3 separate regions of the Homo sapiens genome follow, and regions 1 and 3 are each linked to region 2. The links are contacts of gene promoters, found by promoter capture Hi-C in blood cells and fetal thymus (Javierre and others, 2016). All regions are on one chromosome and are shown on one strand. Each heading gives the region's core, a stretch centred on a gene start or on the middle of the fragment in contact. The rest is flanking DNA. Distances are from core to core; before and after follow the strand shown.

The links. The method cuts DNA at HindIII sites, captures the fragments that hold promoters and counts their contacts. A CHiCAGO score of 5 or more calls a contact.
Region 1: a fragment that was not itself captured here is called in contact with the fragment with the promoter of CDO1 in region 2 in 2 of 17 cell types (non-activated CD4 T cells and total CD8 T cells); the score reaches 6.2 in non-activated CD4 T cells.
Region 3: a fragment that was not itself captured here is called in contact with the fragment with the promoter of CDO1 in region 2 in 1 of 17 cell types (total CD8 T cells); the score reaches 5.4 in total CD8 T cells.

What each region holds. Positions count from the first base shown.
Region 1 is chr5:115,278,093-115,280,792 of GRCh38, forward strand. CCDC112 (coiled-coil domain containing 112) reads right to left here. Exons shown (of 10, transcript NM_001040440.3): 3 at 1,555-1,676. Among named protein-coding and RNA genes, the nearest start is that of PGGT1B, 17 kb to the left of the region's middle. The HindIII fragment of the contact is 1,157 bases long and covers 801-1,957 here.
Region 2 is chr5:115,815,297-115,817,996 of GRCh38, forward strand. CDO1 (cysteine dioxygenase type 1) reads right to left here and starts at 1,363. Exons shown (of 5, transcript NM_001801.3): 1 at 932-1,363. The coding sequence starts at 1,101. It overlaps LOC124901049 (a long non-coding RNA gene), which reads left to right and starts at 1,792. Exons shown (of 2, transcript XR_007058908.1): 1 at 1,792-1,875. The HindIII fragment of the contact is 6,274 bases long and covers 1-2,700 here.
Region 3 is chr5:115,252,720-115,255,419 of GRCh38, forward strand. PGGT1B (protein geranylgeranyltransferase type I subunit beta) reads right to left here. Exons shown (of 9, transcript NM_005023.4): 2 at 418-536. Among named protein-coding and RNA genes, the nearest start is that of PGGT1B, 8.8 kb to the right of the region's middle. The HindIII fragment of the contact is 658 bases long and covers 1,026-1,683 here.

The sequences.
Region 1 (2,700 bases), core at 129-2,628, 540 kb before region 2:
GAAACTTTTTGTAATTTACTTTGTAGGGTCTTACTGTTGAACTTTAGGTCATGAAACCTCTCTAGTAAAGTAATTAGGAAAGTGTTTTTTGTTGCTTCATTTTAGCCTTAGTTTGATCAGCTACCAAAATATCACTACAAGGCTGATAATCTTTTTATTTTATTTATTCATTTGGATAGATAGACAAATCATTTAAGTACAATATGACATAAATGCAGACTAAAATTGAGGTATGCTATTGGAGGTAAGGAATAGGTATTTCTACTGCTCAGCTGTAATATATGAAGGGAAAACTTCTCTACACTAAGGCAAGCATTCTTTACTCTCCTAGACAGGAAAAACATAAAGTGTAGTAACACTACACTTTATAAGAGCAAAACTTATAAAAATAACTTAAAAAAATAAGCAAAACTATAGAACAAAGTGAAATAGATTGGTACAAATAAAGTTGCCATAATAAAGGGAAAATCAAGTGACCTAAAATTTGCACAAAATTTTACTTATTGGCATTACTGAGACATAGAAAAATCAGCCTCCCAGTTGTCTACAAAAGAACTGAGGGAAATAAAGAAATATTGAATCAGGGGTGTCTCGGTTTTTCAATGTATCAAAGAAGGAAAATGATTCCTGCCACTGCTTGACAAAGAATCACTTTTTAAAGTAGTGTAATCTTTTCTTTTAAAAAATAGTGCAACCTTGTATTTTGAAAGAAAAAAATCACTAAGAATTTACTTTAATTGATGACAAGGGAGTATCATGAGCAGTCTCATCTCTACATAGTAAGTCTTAATATTTTATAAAGCTTAGTTATTTGATAACCATTATTTTTCCTTTAAGAAATGCTAAGCAGCTTTTTTATTATAAAGATTTTACAACATACAGAATCTAACGCTACAATGAAACAAATATTCTCAAATTCTTTAAGGGTAACATTCAGTACACTATTGACAATGATTAATATTCATAACAAACAAAAGAACATAGTCATGTACAATCTATCTATAAGGTACATTTTTATATATTATCTCATCAGATGCATAGTACGGCTCTCCTGAGGTAGAAATGACAAGTTTTAGAATGTAGACAAGGAAACTCAGGTTTATGCAATTATCTGACTTGATCACTTCACACAACTGCTAATTATAGCTTTGAATCTGTTGATGCTTACTGAGTCCAGGGCTCAGTCAACAATGCCAGGGTAATGAGCTAACATCAGACAGCCCAGAAATCACTCTGCTTTTAAGAAATTTTAATAGAATTTGGTGGTGTGTCAACCAAAAAAATCCCCCAAATCCTCTCTTTCTTGTTATATTGGAAAAAATATACAACAGAAAACAATCCAGTTAGTATGACTAAATAGTGACCCGAAAGAATAAACATGTCCCTAAAAGACAAATTTTACCAACTAAAATACAGAGAATATAACACAGTCAATAGAGAACTGACTCTATTGATAGAGAACACAATACAGTCAATGCACAAAGACAAAGCACAGGGTAAAACTACAACTTTATATCGCTCAACAGTTTTTAGTTCATCACAAACTCAACTTACTTTCTGTTTTCCTGCTGTGAATCAATTTATTTTCCAATTCTTCTAGCATACTATGCTCAATTCTGAAGTCACTTTTTTGGTTGTAGAAATGACTGTGTTTATCTTTTTCCATGTTAATTACTCTTTAGGAAAAGAAACAAATAGTATAAATATGATCTAAATATATTTTTAATAGTTTAAAATATGAAGACACTCAATAATCCGTATTTTATATTTGGATTAATTCATCTATGGAATAAAAATAATTACTTTGGTTAATAAGGCTAAGGAATCAAAACATTAGTCAAAATAATAGCTAGAAGAGTTAATTTCAATCAAACACAACTATAATTTGAACTGCTATGTAAATCATAAAATGATAATTTAAGAAAATGTGGATATACATTTGCTTTGAAAATGCATAAGCTTTTGACTATTGATTCCAACTCAATCTCACTGGAGCCTGAAAATGGCCATCACTGCTGATGACTGCTTTCAATAGTAGATACTATTAATTTTGTAACCTTAGCCAAGATGGTTAACCTCTCCAGGTATGAACCTCCTCATCACTAAAATGTGAATAATAACAGCTCTCCACTATCTAATAGGGCTATTATTCACATCAAATGAGATAATATATGTGGGAGATCTCTGTACAGTACAAGTATACTATGGAAATGCCAGTTATTAATATTATTAATAAAACTAAAACTTCGAGAGACTAACCATCTACAAAGACAGGAAATTTCGGGTATTTAATGACTATTGTCTACATTTACTTCAGGCTTCTTTCAGCACATCTTTGCCCCTTGAATTTAGTCTAACAGTAAGGAGTTCTCATTGTTAGTTTGCACCCTAAGAGAAAACAAAAATAAAATAAAACACTACTGAGAAACTTTTTTGATTGGGCAAAGAAATCAATTCTCAAATTACCTTTTTTTTTTTGAGACAGGGTCTGGCTCTGTCACCCAGGCTGGAGTGCCATGGTGCCATCTCAGCTCACTGCAGCCTTGACCTCCCTGGCTCAAGCAATCCTCCAACCTCAGTCTCCTGAGTAGCTGGGACTACAGGGGCACACAACCACCATGCCCAGCTAATTTTTTTTTTTGATAGATATAGGGTTTTGCCATGTTGCCCAGGCTGGTCTTGAACTCCTGAGCTCAAGTG
Region 2 (2,700 bases), core at 113-2,612:
TTTACCTCTGGCCCCGGAGGATTGGTAGAGAGATTCGACTTAATCACCAAGCCGGGGCTGCAAAAAAGCCAGCTTACCAGGGCACCTCACTCAAGTACATCTGGGAAGTAGGGGTCTTTAATTTACATTACAGATCGTCAGAAGCAAGGATAAGATAAATCAGATCATTTGGGGGCTGAAAAAAACGACGGTCGAATATTTAATCTGCGAAACTTGGCAGTGGATTTGAATAAACCCACAGTCGGGGAAGTTAGTTAAATTGGTTTGGGAAAGGGAACAGCAGAAATTCCGTAGTGGCAGCTGACGGCCACAAGACGCTATTTTACATGAGTAAAAATGCTTGCTATAAGGTGCCCGGTTGCAGGCGACCGAAGGCGCAGTGATGGAGAACTGACGCGGGTGACTTGTCTTCTTCAACATCACACACTTCTCCCGATGGCTGATGTAGTGCTCCCCTGGGAGCACCCTCTGCTAGTCCGGCCAGACGGTTCCTTAAGGTGTCAGGAGGGCCCGAACCTGAGTGCGGTCTCTCCGCATCTCCGCGCCCGGGGTTAACGATGGCTTGGGAGTGTGGGCATTGCTCCCGAGGCCAGGGGCAGGAGGACTGGTGGTTTAGAAGCAGAGGGGTTTGCGGGAGAGAAGAGAACAGAAAATCTCGCAGACGCGCGGTGGCCTCCCTTCCCGGCGCCTGTCCGCCGTTCCCGGCCGGAGGTCAGCAAGGCCAGTAGGATCCACCTTCCGCCTGCGCTGTGGCCGCGGAGCCCCAAGCGAGTCGTGCCAGCCCCGCGGCTGGCCAGCGAGGGGGCGAGCGGCGGACGCAGCGCGGCCCGAGCTTCCCGAGCCAGTCACTTTGGGCTGCGTCCCCCACGTCCATTCCTCCTCAGACGGGGCGAGTGGGCGCCGCCTGGCATTGAAGCTGCAGCGCGCTCACCTGTACTGGTCGAACTTGGCGTACATTGCCCACTCGGTGGGGTCGCTCTCGTAGGCTTCCATGATGGCCTGCACCTCCTCTACATTGACCTCATCGCCGGCAAAGAGCTGGTGCAGGATGCGGATCAGATCAGCCAGGGTCCGTGGCTTCAGCACTTCGGTCTGTTCCATCTCGTGGGGAGCTGGCTGCGCGCGCGTCTCACTGCTGGGCTGCGGTGGAGGAGCTGAGCGAGCCAAGGAGCTGGGGGCGAGGGAGCCTAACAGCCCGCTAGACCGCTAAGCAGACACACACGCACAAACCCAGCATTAGAGTGCCGAAACGTAAGGATGTCGTCGCAGAGACAGCAAGAGACCCACCCCCAGGCCCCTGGCAGCGCAGTGGATCCGGGATCGCTGGAGACGCGGTGCACACACAAATCAGGTTCAGATCTGTGGGGTTCATCCTCCCGGGCCCCTTTTAAGCGCTTGGAGTCACTAGGAATGTACCAACGGCCCTCGGAGGGAGGACGAGGCGGAGAGCCACCCAAGAAAGGTGGCGGAGGCGGGGAGACCCTGCGGGCACGGCTCACGCGCACATCCCCGGCTTCCCCGGGCTCCGCGCCTTCCCAAGAGCCCCGTTGTCTCCGGCGTCCCAGGGATCGCGTGGGCTCCGCGCAATCTCTCCCCCACTTTAACGGCGCGTTTTAGCCGCCCGGCCTAACGCCTCTCCCCGCTCCACCTCCGCCGCTGTGGTTCGCGACGCTGGGACGTAGACAAAAAGGGTCGGAGGAGATGGCTGCGGGGACTGACGCTGAGTAAAGGAGGAAAAGAAAAGGGAAGGAGAGGGACACTTCTTCCAAATAGAGAATTGTGAGGAGCCTGCGAAAATTGAGGATGGATTCCACTCCTAGGCCAGAGAGTGCCTGTTTTGTCGATTGAAACTATCCACGATATGCCCCAGGCTAGGTGAAAATAAGTCCAAGACTTTATATATATATATATTTAAGTATACACACACACATATTTTTTAAAATGCGTACTGAAATATATTTTGACAAAGGAGACTCGGGTCTCTAGTAAGACAATTAGTGAAATGATGGAAAACCAAGAACTCTTTGATTTTAAAATCAAATATTTTCTTTTAAAAAATATCCAGTGCAAATAACCTGATATTTCATTTGATGGTGTAAAAGGGGGCTTTTTCTGAGGGGATAGGGCGGGCTCTGACGCAATAATTTAAGAGGCTATAATTATATTTGAATCTTTCAACCTTAGGCATGTGCTTGAAGGAGCCTGCTAGTACATACATATAAGGAAACACGTTTCTACGTCATGCATAGCACCTAGTACGTTGGGAACAACACAAATCAAGTACAGTAGGATTTAAATGAGAAAGATGTGAAAGGTGGAAGAAATGCAAGTGTAGATTTCTTCCTTCTCATTATGGATGGACGCAGGGAATAATTTGGATTTAAGGTTATTAAAGTTCTAGACTTCTGAAGACCTGTTTTTTTCTAGACTATGATCACCCTCCCTCGTGTATATACATGTATACAATGAAATTTACTTGTGCCAGGTAGTCTTAAACATCTCTGGTAAAACTCGCTACATTATATTCTAACAGTGTTGTTAAAAGCGGAATCACCTATTGTTCAAAAATGGCTACAAGTAGAAAGCATTCCAGAAGCCAGCCTTGGTGATGTGTGTTGCTGCGGGGTAGTGAATTAACAAAGTATTTTGTGACAGAGTAACCTGTAAACTTTTCATGGTTTCCTCAAATTATTTTTTATT
Region 3 (2,700 bases), core at 105-2,604, 560 kb before region 2:
GGAGGGAAAATAATCAGGAAACTGAAAGAAAACTTTTCGATGGCAAAGAGTTTTTCACTGAAAAGACAAGAATTGTTGGGAATGAAAAACAGAGTTAATGCTACAGAACTAATCAAACATAAATACTGACTATAAATAATCAACAAGTAGTCATCAAAGTGGAAGTATACAACATAGTATGGTGCCACAACTGTGAATCTCTATTAAATTCCAGATAACTCTAAATTGTTTTCTTGAGATTATGATCAGATTTGTTAAGTACTGTATTTCAACAGAATGGCAATGCTGCATTACAACAAAATCACAGATAAATAAAATATGTTAACAGTATACAAGTACTAAGATTTTCTAGTCCAACACATGTTATGTCAGGTACAACCAGTCACACTAAAAATAAAATGCTAAAAACTCACTCACTGTCTTCTGTGGGAAGGACCTGCAGGGAATAAATCCACTCTATTATATCATCTTTGTTCACCACATCTAAGGAATCCAACATATCCAGCCCGGAGAGTGCAAAAAATGCAATTGTCAACCTAAAAGAAAAAAATGTAAAATTCCATCTTAACTATCATACCACTTAAGTCTGAAGTCTTCCTGGTCTAGAAAAATAATAAAATCATTCTAATTTTCCAATAATTTAAACAATACTTCCACCTTGCAAAAGCAAAAAATATATATATACATATTCTTGTAACTTAATACTATCAGTCAAGCCTTTTGTTTCAATTTTTCAAAAGGGGACATTTGGGGGTTAAGAAACCAATCCTACCCCATTGACACAAACAAGACCCACTGAAGCCAGAATATCACCAAACTGAAGGCTAAAGTAGATTTAAAAAAGGATTCTCTACAACTAATCAGTACAAATAGTACAGGACTTAGAAATATGTGAAAATGTCAATTTTCACTAATTTGTCAGGATCAATTATAGCTTGTATTTAATTCTGGAGGAATATGAGAATAATGTCTTAATTCAAAGGTGTTCACAAATAACATGATTCCTTGGGAAAAGATTTATAATAAGCTTTGAGAAATATAAAACATTTAAAAAAATACAAATGTACTTACACTCTATTTTCCCAGAGAGGAGCATTCTTTGGCAGAATGAAAAACTATAGAGCAAAACCTTCCCCCTCTGAAACTGTACACTATAAATCAGAAATCTAAACCTGTGCTTTCATATAAAAATCAGTATCTTACCGATGGCTTTGAACACAAAGAATTTGTTATATATAATTCCTTTCATGTTGAGAAGCAGTCTCTAGTATAGCTTGATTGAGTACTGTTACATCATTTCCATAATCTAACAATTCATATGACTAATAGTAATAAATTAACACTTCAAATTATCTGGTCTAAAATTTTACAGCAGAGCTACCTGATGTATTCTGTAATCTTTTCAATGAAGATTCTAAGAAATAGTTAAGCCTTAATGTCCTGAGGTATCCACTGTATGTAATAAATTTACTTCTCTCCTGTGCATCTAGAGTACTATTATCTAGAATAGTACTACAGGTTGAGTATCCCTTATCTGAAATGCTTGGGACCAGAACTGTTTCAGATTTCAGATTTTTTTTTGATTTTAGAATATTTGCATATACATGAGATGATACCCCACTGGGACAGGACCCAAATCTAAATATGAAATTCATTTAAATTTCATATACATCTTACACACGAAGCTTATTTTATATAATAGTTTAACAATTTTGTGCATGAAACAAAGTTAGTGTTAAGCACTTATGTGTGGAATTTTTCACTTGTGGCTTCATGTCAGTGCTCAAACCGTTTCTGATTTTGGAGTCTCTCAGATTTTTGGATTAGGGATGCTCAATCTGTACCAACTTTAGGAGAGATGAGAAAATAGTGATTTCTTCTCTTTTTTTTTTTTTTAAGGGCAAATTATCGCTCTGATCCCTGGTGGAAAAAGACTAGCAGCATCCATTAGATAACAGGAGGAGATATCAGAAAGTAATTTAATTCCAACCAAAGCTTAAGGGCAAAAACTAAAACTACAGAGATTTGGGTGCACTTCAGAAATAAATATTTGGGAAACATCCTATTGAGAGACTATTACCATGTATTAGACACTGAGCTGGGACATTTCTCATATATTATCTCAATTTAATCCTAACAACACACTGAGATCTATTTGAATTAGAGAGGTAATTTATCTAGGTAAGATCAGGATTATATTAAGGGCAGTGGAACTCCTTTATGTGGGAAGCAGTGTTGTACAGTAGTTCAAAGCTCAGACTCTGCAGTCAAATTTCAAGTTGGCCAATTTCACTAGACTGACCACATGACTCTGGGCAGGATACCTAAACTTTTCTAATCAGCTTCCAATAATTATTTTAATCATTACTATACCTTATACAGTAATTGTGCTTACCTACTCACAATAAGCACGCAATAAATGGAAGCCATTATCCTTGGTCTTTGCCATGATTTGGAGGGACAAGAGTAACAACGACTTTAGGATCTAATCACAGTCTATAACACTACAGGCCTTTTCTATAGACTCTTGGTTGTAACCATTTTCCCCAGAGGAATGTGCTTCTCCAAACACAATAAACCTTTAGACATGGGAAAAACCTCTACATAATAGCAACAAAGTGTGAAAATCACTGCCCTTGGTGGTAATTATGTCTCATGAGAGAAGGTCCACTTTGTTTGTATGCACTCAAATATTTACTG